Regions from separate parts of the Homo sapiens genome. Here regions 1 and 3 are each linked to region 2. The links are contacts of gene promoters, found by promoter capture Hi-C in human tissues and cell types (Jung and others, 2019). All regions are on one chromosome and are shown on one strand. Each heading gives the region's core, a stretch centred on a gene start or on the middle of the fragment in contact. The rest is flanking DNA. Distances are from core to core; before and after follow the strand shown. Region 1 has its middle 25 kb from the start of CAPNS2. Region 2 holds the start of CES1 (carboxylesterase 1). Region 3 holds the start of SLC6A2 (solute carrier family 6 member 2).

What was found. Contacts are between HindIII fragments. The study calls those that stand out against the background at their distance.
Region 1: a contact is called between a fragment that was not itself captured here and the fragment with the promoter of CES1 in region 2, in 2 of the 25 tissues and cell types used here (H1 embryonic stem cells and spleen).
Region 3: a contact is called between the fragment with the promoter of SLC6A2 here and the fragment with the promoter of CES1 in region 2, in 1 of the 25 tissues and cell types used here (mesendoderm cells).

What each region holds. Positions count from the first base shown.
Region 1 is chr16:55,589,326-55,593,798 of GRCh38, reverse strand. No RefSeq gene overlaps it. Among named protein-coding and RNA genes, the nearest start is that of CAPNS2, 25 kb to the right of the region's middle. The HindIII fragment of the contact is 4,617 bases long and covers 651-4,473 here.
Region 2 is chr16:55,831,537-55,835,963 of GRCh38, reverse strand. CES1 (carboxylesterase 1) reads left to right here and starts at 2,868. Exons shown (of 14, transcript NM_001025195.2): 1 at 2,868-2,960. The coding sequence starts at 2,909. The HindIII fragment of the contact is 6,998 bases long and covers 2,022-4,427 here.
Region 3 is chr16:55,654,027-55,658,438 of GRCh38, reverse strand. It overlaps SLC6A2 (solute carrier family 6 member 2), which reads right to left and starts at 2,451. Exons shown (of 15, transcript NM_001172501.3): 1 at 2,270-2,451; 2 at 1,471-1,795. The coding sequence starts at 1,744. It overlaps LOC124903693 (a long non-coding RNA gene), which reads left to right and starts at 2,326. Exons shown (of 2, transcript XR_007065075.1): 1 at 2,326-2,840. RefSeq lists an enhancer at 1,664-2,199. The HindIII fragment of the contact is 17,922 bases long and covers 1-4,412 here.

The DNA of each region.
Region 1 (4,473 bases), core at 1,710-4,209, 240 kb after region 2:
TAAGATATACAATTCTAGGTCAACAGTTATTTTCTCTCAGCACTTTAAAGATACTATTCCACTGTCTTTTGGCTTCCGTGGTTGCTGCTGACAAATCTAGCAGTGCTACTGACAAGTTTGTTCCTTGGTAAGTAATATATTTACTTCTGGCTTCTTTAAAGAACTTCTGTCTTTTAGTTTCTGCAGTCCACCATGTTGAATTGAGGTACAGATTTCATTTTAAAAATTTCCCTGGGGCTCATTACAGTTCTGAATCCAAGGGATTCATATTTGTCGACTCCAGAGTAGCAATATCTATTAGTTCTTCAAACAGTGCTTTTTTTCCTCATTCTTACTACTGTCTCCTCAAATTCCAATGAAATGTGTGCCAATTGTTCTCATTCTATTGTATTTTTTTACCTTCTTTTCCTCATTTTTCTCTCTTTGCCTCTGTATGCTGCATTCTGGATAGTTTCTTCAAATCTATTATCAGTTTCCTAATTCTTTTGTAAAGCTGTGTCAATATTTACAGTTTAACTCATCTATTTAGTGTAATATATAGTTTTATTTTCTAGATGTTCTATTTCTAGAAGACTTTTTCAAATAGATCTGGTCTTTTTTATGGTACCATGTTCATTTCTCATAGTTTCATAATTTTCTCAAACAGCCTTTAAAATCTTGCTTTAATTTTTATATTCAACAATTCTATAATCCAAAGATTCTGAGATTTTTCCTGATGTTTGTTTGTGCTGACTCTTGCCTTATATCCTTGCATATTTCATAATTTCAGAACTTTGGTTTGGCTGGGCTTTACTTGGCATTCTATCACATGTTAGGTTGAAAATGTATCCTTCCAAAGATTTACATTTCTGTCTAGTTGGTATCCCAGGGAATTCTTAATTCTCAGCATTGGGGGTTCATAGACCATGTCAGTAATTTTCAAACTTCGAACACATGTGAGGTCAGCTCTACATTTTAAAATGCTTGGGATGGAGGCAGTGAGGACATTCTGCTTCCACCTATGATGGAATAGCTAGTACTTGGTTAGCCCTCTTGCTATAAAGTATTATTAAAATGAACAAAATATATGAAAACTATTTTCAGACTTTGGACAAGAGGCAATGCAGGACTATGATTCCCAAGAGAAGGAAAACAAATGAGGTGATATAATGACCACTCTGTTTTATTCTGTCTAGAAAATTTTCTGGACTGTTTTGTAGAGTGCAAGAGCCCAAACAGAATACAGAAGTGTCACTTAGCTAAGGAGACAGAGATTAGAGCCTGAGGAGGCTGAGTTGGTTGGAAAGTGTGGAGTATAGTACTGAGAAAAAGGAAGTTGGTTATAGACAGAGCTACAGACATCTCTACAGGAAACCCCTTAAGTCTTTGGTTAATTATTGTTATGAACTGAATTGTGTCTTCATCTCCCTCACCTAAATTCATAGGTTGAAACCCTAGCCCTCAATGTGCTTGTCTGTGAAGACAGGGCCTTTAGAAAGGTAAGTTAAGGTTAAATGAGATCATAAGAGTGGTGGTCTAATGCAATAGGAATGGTGTCTTTATAAGAGAAAGGGATACCAGAGCGCTCTCTCTCTCTCTCTCTCTCTCTCTCCAGACATGTATAGAGAGAAGAGACCATGTGAGGACACATGAGTAGGCAGCTGTCTATAAACCAGAAATCTTATCAGAAACCATCCTTAATAGCATCTTGATCTTGGACTTCTAGCCTCTAGAAGTGTAAGAAAATAAATTTCTGGTTTTTTTAAGCCTCCCAGTCTGTGTTATTTTGTTATGGCAGCCTAAGTAGACTAATATAGCTACTAAGCTGCACATGCTCAGCGAAAGACTCCATGAGGACAGATAAAGAACATCTATTGGAGAAACAAAAAGTACTGAGGAAAGAATATCTACAGAGGAAGCTGTATATTGAATAACTACTGAAGCTCACACAAGGTTAAAACACATTTGATTTTTGAACAGCCAGAGCGTAGAGACCTTGTTGAATATACAGGAGATTCAAAAGAGACCCTCAGAAAGGCTACACTTTAGGCATAAGGCTAATGTAATCCTAGAGTAAAGAATACTATGGACTCTTTCTTGTAAAACCTTAAAATAAGCTTAGAAAGAACCAGGCTGATCTGCAAGTAAATTAACTACCTGGCAGAACAAAACTAGACACCCGATTTAAGGATGACAGCCAAATCTAGACACTTAATAAAGTGGCATCCATAATGTCCAGGATATAACACAAAATTATCAGACATGTGAAGAAAAAGGAAATATGACCTATTACTAGGAGGTAAATCAGCGATAGAAATAAAATCAGGAATAACAAACACAGAATAGGAAATAAGAACTTTAAAACTACATATAAATATATTCTAGAAATTTAGGAAATCTGTGAACATAATGAGAGAATAGGAATTCTCATTAGCCAAATAGAAACTAAGAAAAAAACTAAATAAAAGTTCAAGAAGCATAAAATGTGGTATCTGAAATGAAACATTTATACTGCAGGAGACACAACTGGTGAACTTGAAGAGCAACAAAAAATATGAAAACCAAAGCATACAGAAAAAGGAAGATGAAAAAAATTAACAGACTCAGTGACCTATGGAATAGTCCAAATGGGCTAACATATATGTAATTAGAGGAGAGAAATGAGAAAGATTAGGGGCAGAAAAATTATTTGAAAAAAATAATAGCTGAAAATTTTCCAAATTTCATGAAAACTCTAAACTTACAGATCCAAGCAGTTCAATAAACCCCAGAAGCATAAAGAATATTGCACCAAGGCAAATCATAATACAATTTTTCAAAACTAGTAATAAAGAAAAAAAAATGTTAAAAGTAGCCTGATGATAAATTACATACAACAGAACTAGGAAGATAATTATTGTTAATTTCTCATCAGAGACAATAAAAAGAAAAAGACAATGAAATCTGTAATGTACTAGAAGGAAAAGAAAATCAACCTAGAATTCTATATCCATCAAAAATATTCTACAAAAATGAAGCCAAAATAAAGACACATTTAGACAAAATAAAGTTGAGAGAACTTATCGACAGAAGACTTGTGCTACAAGAATTGTTCAAGGAAGGTCCTCATGCTTAAGGAAAATGATGAAAAGTGGAACTATATAAAGAAGAGTGCTAGAAACAGTAAATATGTAGATAAATATAAAATACCTTTCTTTATCAAAGTCTTACTTTCTCTCAATGGTAATTGTTTATAACAAAAATAATTAAAGTGTCTTGTGGGGTTTAAAACACATAAATAACATATGACAATAGCAGAAATAATAAGGTAGAGTAAAATGAAAGTATATTGTTGTAAGGTTCACATGCTATAGGTGAAAAAGTATACTGTTATTTGAAAGTAAACTATATTACATTAAAGATACAGTTTAGATGTGAAAGATATTATAAGCCTTGGAGCGACCATTAAAAATAGGTAATTATATCTAATAAGCCAAAAGAAAATATAAAATGATAAAATGTCAAAAAAAATGATTAATTCAAAAGAAGTCAGAAAAGGAAGAGAGAGTATCCTAGAACAGATGGAACAAACAGAAAACAAAAAGCAAGATAGTAGACTCTGTATGGTAGTAAACCTAATTGTATCAATAATTACATTAAATGTAGGTGGAGTAACTGCTCCAATTAAAAGACAGAAATTGTCATATAGAATAAAAAAATCAAGGCCTGAATGGGTCATAAAACATTCATTTAAGAGATGCATTTAAAAAATAAGGACACAAGTTAATAGTAAAATGATGAAAAACTATAAACCATGCAAACACTAATGATAAGAGAGTTGGCATGGTTGGAGTAGCTATGGTAACATTAGGAGTATTACTAGAATTAAAGAGGCATATTTCATAATGATAAAAGGGTCAATTCATCAAGACTATATGAAAATCATAAGTGATTATGAATCTAAGGGCAGGACGTCAAACAAACTGACTGCCAATAAAACCATGGTTGCAGCTGACAATTTCAATATCCCCTTTTCAATAATTATAGAATAAGCAGACAAAAAAATCAGTGAGGCTATAGAGGGCTTATATAGCATTACTAACTAACTGAACCTAATTTACCTTTACTGAACATTACATTCAACAAATGCAGAACACATATTCCTTTCAAATGCACATGGGACATTCAACAAGACATACATAGACTGGGCCATAAAATGAGTTTTGAAACATTTTTTTAATTGAAAGTTTTTGAAAAATCAGAGATTCTTTCCCCCTGCTCCAACCAAGCACCCAGCCCAAGACAGAAAAGTTTCCTCATTGTCTTTCTTTGTCAGAAGATGGATTTTTCCAGTTCATTCTTTTACTGAGCCTCTAACCCTTCATCTGCTTTTTCTCCCATGAGGTCTCAGTTCAACATTCCCACCTTATACAAAAAGCTTGTTTTTGTCTTCCATAGCCAAAAAATACTAAGTCCCTTTGTTACTGAGATTGACAAATGTCTGCAGGACGACTG
Region 2 (4,427 bases), core at 1,619-4,118:
GTGCTAATGAGCATGCCTTTTTGAATTTGGGTCTCCAGAAGTTTCATTTCAGCTACAACTCATGGCCTTGGGCAAGAATCCATCAGCAGCTCTGGGACTGTCATGTGATTTATGGCTGCTGGTTGCCCAATCTTTCCTGATGTCAATAGTGGTGTGGCCTGGACAAGGGCAGGCTTGCCAAGTGACATTGGGAAAATAGAACATAGCTCCCCAGGTACCTGGTACATGGCTCCCATCTTTGTCCCTTCCTTCCTTCCTTCCTTCCTTCCTTCCTTCCTTCCTTCCTCTCTCTTTCTTTCTTTGTCTCTCTCTGTCTTTCTTCTTCTTCTTCCTCTTCTTCTTTCTTCCCTCCTTCTCCTTCTTCTCCTTCCTCTTTTTCTTCTTCTTCCTTTCTCCTTATTCTTGTAGAGATAGGGTCTTACTATGTTTCCCAGGTTGGTCTTGAACTCCTCTCTCAAGCAATCTTCCCACCTTGGCTTGCCAAAGTGCTAGGATTACCGAGCGGGAAGGGTTGCCACAGTGCCCAGCCTCCCCTGGCTATTTCTATCCCTTCAGCCCTACCATGCTAAGCCTGGGTCAATGAGCTGACAAGGCAATTTGCCTTAGATAAGGCTACTGATTAGAATATCTTCCTGATGTATAAAAGCAAGAGAAATGGCTGCCAGCCACCCTGTGCTGGAAGGCAGAAGCCTCAAGTTCTGGTTCTGACTTTGCCATTGAGTTGCTGTGTGACCTTAGGCAATCCCTCCTCATCTCTGGGCCTTAGTTTCTTTTGGGAATAAATAACGGAATTGAGTTGAGCCTATGTATTAGTCTACTTAGGCTGCCAGAAGAAAATATCACAGACTGGGTGGCTTAAACAACAGAAATCAATTTAAGATCGTGAGACAGCATTAATCTCACGGGGTTATTTTGAGAACTGAGATCCTGCATACAAAACTCTCGGCATAGTGTTTGCCACACAGTAAGCTCTCAGTAAATATTTGTCAATGAATGTATGAAGGAATAAAAGTGGAAAATGCAAATAAGTGAAACACTGACAAGATTACAGCCAGGAAATGGCTGTTGTAATTCTAATTAGATATATAGACTTCCAGTATTTTCCTATGCAAATAAAGACATATGTTACTACCAAAACGGGACCATATTATACCTATCTAGATTTTCAAAAATATTTCATTATTTTATTGAAATATAAGTCACATGTCATAAAGTTTACCTTTTTAAAGTGTACAATCTAGTGGTGTTTAGTATATTCCCAAAGTTGCACTAACATCATCACTATTTAATCCCAGGACATTTTTACCACCCCCAAGATAAAACTCATGCCCATTAGCAGTCACTCCTCATCCCCGTCTCTTTCCCCTTCCCCAGACCCTGTCAAACACTTTCTGTCTCCATGGATTTGACTATTTTGGAAATTACATATAAAAAGCATCATACGACATGTGGCCTTTTGTGGCTGGCTTCTTTCCTTTACCATGATGTTTTCCAGCTTCATCCACGTTGTAGCATGTTCTTCTTATGGCTGGATGATATGCCTCTGCACGCATACACCACACTTCATTTACACATTCATCAGGTCATGGACATGCGGGTTGTGCCCACTTTTTGACTAGGATGAATGACACTGCTCTTTGTGTACAAGCTTTTGTGTGGACATGCTTTCAGTTCTCTTCGGTAGACACCTAGGAGGGGAATTGCTGGGTCATATGGAAACTCTGTGTTGAACTTTTTGAGGAACTGCCTACACCGCACAACAGTTTATAACCTATTATTTTCTCCTTTCACAACGCATCCTGTCTTCATTGTTAATAAATAGCTGTGCACATCACTATTTTGAGTGAATACATCGTATTTCCTTAGCCAGCGGTACCACAGTGTGTTTAGTGAATTCCCTATTGTTGGACATTTAATAATCCCATGAAAGAGGCTTTGAGTGACTTCCTTGTGTCCCCAGCAGCTTGTAAATGACAGTTTTCCAGGTGTGCCCAGAGCACTCTGTATCCCCTTAATTTGGTGATTTCACATTGCCTTGACATCACCCCTACTGCTCCTCCACCCCATCTGTCTTGTCTACAATGGTGAGCCCCTTGAGAAGCTGAACCATGTCTTGAATTGGTCTTTGTATCCATTATACATGGCCAGGTGCCAAGCATTTTGGTAAATGTTCACAAAATGGATGGGTACTTGGATGGATGGATGATAACAGCCAGGGACTATGGGGGGACGGAGTTCATTTTTACATTCTGTCCAAAAATCCCTGCTTTGGAAAGTAGTGAGTTCTCTGACACCGATGGTGTGTGACAGGAGGCTGGACCAGTTGGCAGGATATTGTGAAGCTAATTCAGGCCTCAGAAAGGGGACTCGATGAAATTTAAGATCGCTTCCAAGCTTGAGAGCCTGGAAAGCTATGAAAACACAAGCCCTGGGAGCTGAGATATGTCCTAACTTACCCAGCTGAGCTGTGAGGTGTGAGTGGCTCTAACATTTTCCAGTTGTTTCTGAGGACCTCAGATCAAAGCTTCCCTTTGCCTAAAAGCATCTGCCTGCTGGTGTGGGCCCTTGGGGGCCGTCACAGTGCACTGAGGTTAGAGTCCTGCAAGGGTGAACCCTTATGTAACAAGTAGTTGGGCAAGTTTACAGCTCTCTGTAATCTGACAGTAGAGTCCAGACTGGTTTGATGAAAGAGGGTAAACTGTGGGTGGGCGTGGCCTGAGGCCCCACTAGAAGCCCAGGGAGATCTGAGGAAAGGGAGGGCTTTTCTGATCTCTCCCAATTAGAGGATTAGGCAATTGGCAGCGCAGGGCGGTAACTCTGGGCGGGGCTGGGCTCCAGGGCTGGACAGCACAGTCCCTCTGAACTGCACAGAGACCTCGCAGGCCCCGAGAACTGTCGCCCTTCCACGATGTGGCTCCGTGCCTTTATCCTGGCCACTCTCTCTGCTTCCGCGGCTTGGGGTGAGTCCTTCTGAAATCAAAATGCGGGGCACTTTTTGAAATCCTTGTTCTGGGCCGAGGTGGGCGCAGATGCGTAGAAAGGCAAAGACACAACAGGTCCGGCTCTGCGGCGGGGCACGACTTCCATATTAGGACTTGGACTTGGAGCAGCTGAGCCCGGCCAGCCTGGCCCGCGCGGAGACGCAGGGAGGGTGAACATCCTGAGATCGCCCTGTACTGCTCGCCCAAATGCAGGCCGACAGCCGGCCCACCTCAGGCCGCACACACGAGAAATTTAGGCAGCTCAGTTTGCTGTCCCTTAATTAGTCCCCTTACGGCTGGATCACGGAGAGCGGCTCAACATAATATTAAGAGCATCGACTCTGGAGCCAGAGTGCGTGGGTTCGAGTCCCCGCTGGGCGCTTCCTCGCTGTGTGTCCTTAGGCAAGGGACTGCGCTATTCCGTGCTTGGGTTACCCCCTCTCTGAAACAGAGGTGGCAGTGCTGCCTACCTCACTGGGCTTTGGTGAGGAGGAAATGGGTGGCTGTTTCTAAAGCACTCTTGGCAGCGCCTGGTATGTAGAAAGCACGAAAAAGGGATGGATAAATAAAGGCGCTGTTTAAAAACGTAGTGTATGAATAGAAAATTTGAGCTGTGGTCAGGCCACTATATCAGGACCTCTTGCCATTAAAAAGACAGTTTCTTACTCATGTTCTCAACAGGAGGGGGACACCAGTGCGCGGGGCACAAGGGGAAGCAGCAGAGCCTGGGGAGGGGACAGGGCGGATCTGAGGCCAAGGGGCTTTTACTGTGGCTTCCAAGGATAGAAGAGGAAAGGCAGGGCAGGCAGGCTGAGGACTGGCAAGTTGGGATACTTCAGGGGCTCTGGGGCACAGGGGCTGTTCCTAATTGTTTTGTACCTAGCCCTGGCATGATTAGGGCAGGTGGGTAGTGGCCAGGGCATGGCAACCCGATCAAAGAGGCAGTTGGGGTGTGGGCTCTGGGGTGGCTGGACCCTGGGAGGGAGTTTCTCCAAGGTCAACAAGGCCTCAGATGCCAGAGCATCAGAATACAGAAAGCAAAACACATGGTACATAGAGGGGTGCAGCGAGGGGCCTCGAAATACCCCCATGCCATTTTATAGACAGAGAAACTGAGACTCACACAGGGAAATGTACTTGCCCAGGGTCAACCCGAAAATCACGCCTAGGTCTGTCTCTGGGTCCTGAATCCTGACAGCCCAGCCCCGTCTGCATCCTGTCTTCCTTCTGGCAGCCTGACACTGCGAGAGCTCTGGAACTGTGGGGAAGGGCAGAGAAGAGAGGAAGCCTATTTGGAACTGAATGTTCCTTTACCTCTGGTTACTCCTGGCAATGCCATCCATTTCCTTCCTTAGGAAGACCATACAGGCTGCCTCCACTTCCTCAGTTTCCTCCTCTGTAAAATGGGCATGTTGATGCCTACCCAGCAAGGCTTATTTGAAGATT
Region 3 (4,412 bases), core at 1,202-3,701, 180 kb after region 2:
CGGGTTCAAGTGATTCTCCTGCCTCAGCCTCCTGCGTAGCTGGGATTACAGGCGTGCACCACTACGCCCAGCTAAGTTTTTGTATTTTTAGTAGAGACGAGGTCTCACCATGTTGCCCAGGCTGGTCTCGAACTCCTGAGCTCAGGCAATCTGCCCACTTTGTCCTTCCAAAGTGCTAGGATTATAGGCATGAGCCACCATGCCCGGCCCCACTCCTTTTTTGCAAACACCAAGTATTGCCCGTCCCAAAGCAAGTGTCCAGAGTACACATAGAAGCAGAGTTGTAAGTCCTAGAGCCTGTGAACAGGTCATGAGCTTTCCCTCTACCCAGCTCCAAATTCTTGCCCTTCCTCCCTCTGACCTCCCTTAAGTCCAGAGTCACAGCTACCGCCAAGCAATGCAGCCCAGTGGAGAGAGAGAGGCTTTCAGAGCTGGGTCCCCCTTCTCCAATTTCTTCCTCAAAAGGTCTATTTTCCCACACTCTTTGCAGGGTACCTCTGAGCTCATCCCAGCAAAAGTGGCAGGAGCAAAGCCCCTCAGGAAGGAGCTAGGGGGTGGGGGCCAGCACCCTGACTTCCAGACCGCTTCCCTGGCCCGGGGTTCTATGTTATTCTTCCTGGATTGGCTGTAGGTGATCTCTAGGCTCTCATTTTCAGGCAGGTGGCCAGTTGGACCATCCAGCAGAAGGGGGAGAGAGTGTGGCTGTTCCACTGGAGTCTTCTTCAGGCCCCTCTCCCACTCCTCCCTGCAATGCGGCTAGAACTTGAGGAGGTAGAGGTTTCACCCCAATCATCTGGGCCTCCTGCCTTGAGGACCAGGCCAGTTCTTGGCACCTACTGGCCTGATTCCACCTGGGCTGTGCTCCCTGAGAATGGCATTATTTCTGATACTGGCTTCTTCTTGTGTGTTTCTATCCCCAAGACCACAGGGCCTCCCCAGGTGCCTTCAGAAAACCGAAGTATTCCCACTGCTTCTGGCCCAAAGGTTCCTGCCCCCAGGCTCAGAGTGCTAGATTTAGGGTCACTGTGGGCCTGGTTGTCAAATCCCACCCACTTCTGGTGCCCCTTCAAGAGCTCTTGGAATCTCCACCTCCCTTCCAGCAGACCATCAAAAGGTCAGGCTCCCCCACCCAACCTGGCACCCCAGATTCTGTCCTTTCCATCCATACCCCTACCATGACTTTAGGGTCATGACTCGATTTCACTCTTCTGCTGTTTTGCTTCCAGGGTGCCCAATCCTGACACTTCCGCTGGAATGAGCTCGAGGTACTCTGCAAAGAGCCTGGGAAAATGACCTTCCAGAGGACTCCAATCTTTTTTTTTCCCGTTAGCCCTGTCCAGTTCTTTCTGCGCCCCAGATTTGCCCCTGTCTCCTCGCCTCCCTTCCGTGTGTATTCCAGCTCCTGTCCCAGCCACCGCTGCAGACAGTGGACCTCCCAGATTCAAATTCCCAGCCCGACCCCACGCTCACCGCCGCCGTTCTTGTAGCAGAGGTAGGGGAAGCGCCACACGTTGGCCAGGTCCACTGCGAAGCCGACTACGGACAGCAGGAAGTCGATCTTCTTGCCCCAGGTCTCCCGGGGCTGCGCGTCGCCGTCGCGGGGCGCCAGCAGGCACTGGACGCCGTTGCGCTCCTTCACCACCAGCAGCTCCGCAGTTTTGCGCGCCCGAAGGGGCTGCTCTGGACCCGTGTCCGCCCCGTTGTTCTCGGGCTGCACCTGCGGGTTCATCCGCGCCAGAAGCATGGATGCGGCTGGCGAGAGGAACTTTACCGGTCCTGGGGGCACGCCGAGGCTCTGCTTGGATAAAGGGAAAAGAGGTGGTTACCCGGCCGTTCCTCCCTACTTGCAACTCCCAAGACCACCCGGGAGCGCCTTAGACACTGGGATGAGCGCGCGCTGAGCGGACGCAGGGTTCCCAGAAAAGGGCGCGCGTCCGCTGGAAAAATTTGGAAACAGAGGTTGGGGCACGCCGGAACTCAAGAGTTGGAGACTTCTGACAGCCCTCTGGGGGCGGCTGAAGACCCTGCAGCACTTTTCCTCGTTCACCCACTCTCGCCTGCCCCAAATGGCTGGGATTGAACTCACCGAGGCTGAGGGCAGCGTGCCGACCCCCTCCCCAGCTCAGGTCCGCGACACTTCAACAGCCACAGGAGCCTTCTCGGACACTTAACGTCACTGCACTACAAACTCGCTAGCCCTCTGCTGGCGCGTCTCGGCCCGGGCCTCCCAGGCAGACCTAGCCCTGTCCCGCGCTCAGGGCGCACTCACGTGTCCGGCGGCGAGGGGATCCCTGGTGCCTTGCGCCCTGCCGGCCCCCGACCGGCGGCGCCTTGGCAGGCTCTAGGGCGCGGGCTGGGGCTGGGCTCCGCCGTGTGGCGTTCGGGCGGGGCCGGGGAAGAGCTGGAGGCGCGGGGCGGCCGGCAGGGCGCGGGCTGACTGGTTCTGGCCGTGCCTGGCGGGGGCCGGGCTGGTAATGTAGCCTGCGCCCCAGGTAACGCGCCGATTGCATTAACCCAGCGCCCGGCCCGCTCCGTCTGGAGCCTGTTAGCGCTAATGGAGACTGACAGCGCGGCCGGGGATGGGCAGGGGCGGGAGGGTGGCGCGGGTTCCCAGGGATCTGGGGGACTCGGGCGCGCACTCCCTTTCTATCCTGCGCCGAGCACCGCTCGCCGCTCCCAAGGACACCAGGCCTCTGATCTCCCACCACGGGGAGCGAGTGACAGACTCTCCAGAACTGGGGTCTGCGTCGCGTCAGAAAGGAGGCCAAAAAAGGACTGGGGAAGCAGCGACCGGTGCAGCACCAGCTCTGTCTTCCGCAGCAGGCCACTTAAACTATCTGGTCAGTTTCTTTATCAACGAAATGGGAATGTGCGGCTCAGGGCCCAGTGCTGCAAATAGGCGGCCAGCGGGCTGTTGGGCAGTTTTGTTTGAGCGGCTTAGCATGTTGACAGGTCACAGCCCAGCACTTACTCCTGCATCTCTGTTATTTATGGGCAGGGTAGCAGGTCATTTGAGGTTGTGACCCGTGTTCTGTGAGGCTGAGAACTACTATTTATTCTTTCAATTATTCATTCATTCACACCTTCACACATTTGTTCTTCCATATGCCCGCTGTGTGCCAGGCACTGTTCCGGGCTCTTGGATTACACTGGCGCAACATAACTCGGAGATTCCTGACCTCATGGAGTTTACATTCTGCTGGCGGAGACAGAGGAAACGGGAAACATAATAAATACACACGTTATATGATGGGTGAGGGAATGGGGGGACAGTGGGGCTGCAGTTTGCATACGGGGTCAGGGAATTTGAGAAGGTAACAATTAGACAAGTAAAGGAGTGAGCCATTTGGACCTGAGAGTCGTTTTCTCATTCATTCACTCATCTATTGATTAATGTATTAATCCCTTTAGCAGATGCTGATCATCTGCTGTGTGCGTGAACAGTGCTGGCTAGAGAGGAGATAGCCCCTGCCTTCAAGGAGCTCCCAGACCAGTGTATAGAGTCTATCACAACCCAGTGTGGTCAGGATGTGTTGTGACCACAGATGTGTGGAAGTAGGGTGGAGCTGAATCAGCAAGGGAAGCATCCTGTTGATCCAAGGAGGCTTCAGAGAGGTGGCCGTGCTAAGTGGGTTGGGTGGGGCTTGGATCAGCCCAGCCACACTGACCTTTCCATTCTGTAAACATCCTAAGCTCAAACCCACCCCAAGACCTTTACACTTGCTGTTTTCTCTGCCTGAGTTGTTCAGGTCTCAGTCCAGAGGTCCCTTCCCGACGACTCAAATCGAAAATACACGCTCACTCTATCCTATCACCCTATTTATTCATTTGTTACATCGCTATCCGAATTTGTCCTAGTTGTTTAACTTTATGTCCCCCCTTGGGTGGTATGTGAGCTCCATGAGCACAGGGACCTTGTCTGTCTTTTACAGCACGTGTTCTGGCACCTGGAACGTACTAGAGCATCAACCAGCCTATGAAGTGAATGAGTTAATGAATGAAAGAATGGTGGTGTGTGGCGGTGTTTAGAGCATCTGTACCAGAGGGACAATCGTGACAAATGTCCTCTGGGCAGGATGCAGAGGGGAGAGGAAGGGAAACCTAGAGGGGTATGGGTTCCCCTGGCTTCTGGGGAAGATGACAGAAGGCAGGTGAGGGAAAAGATTGAGCAGAGGTTTGAGGACAAGAGCTCAGAACTGTAGGTTTCCACACATGAAAGGTGTTTATCTCCTTTGATCTATTGGACGATCATGACAATCCTGTAAGGAAAGCAGGAAGAGAATCATCTTTCCACGTATCAGGTCAGGAAACTGTGGCTCTGTGGACTAAAGGGACTTGTCCAAGGTCCCACAGATTGGAAGTCACAGAGTGGAAATGAGAACCCAAGTCTCCTGGCCTCCAGCCTCTGCTCC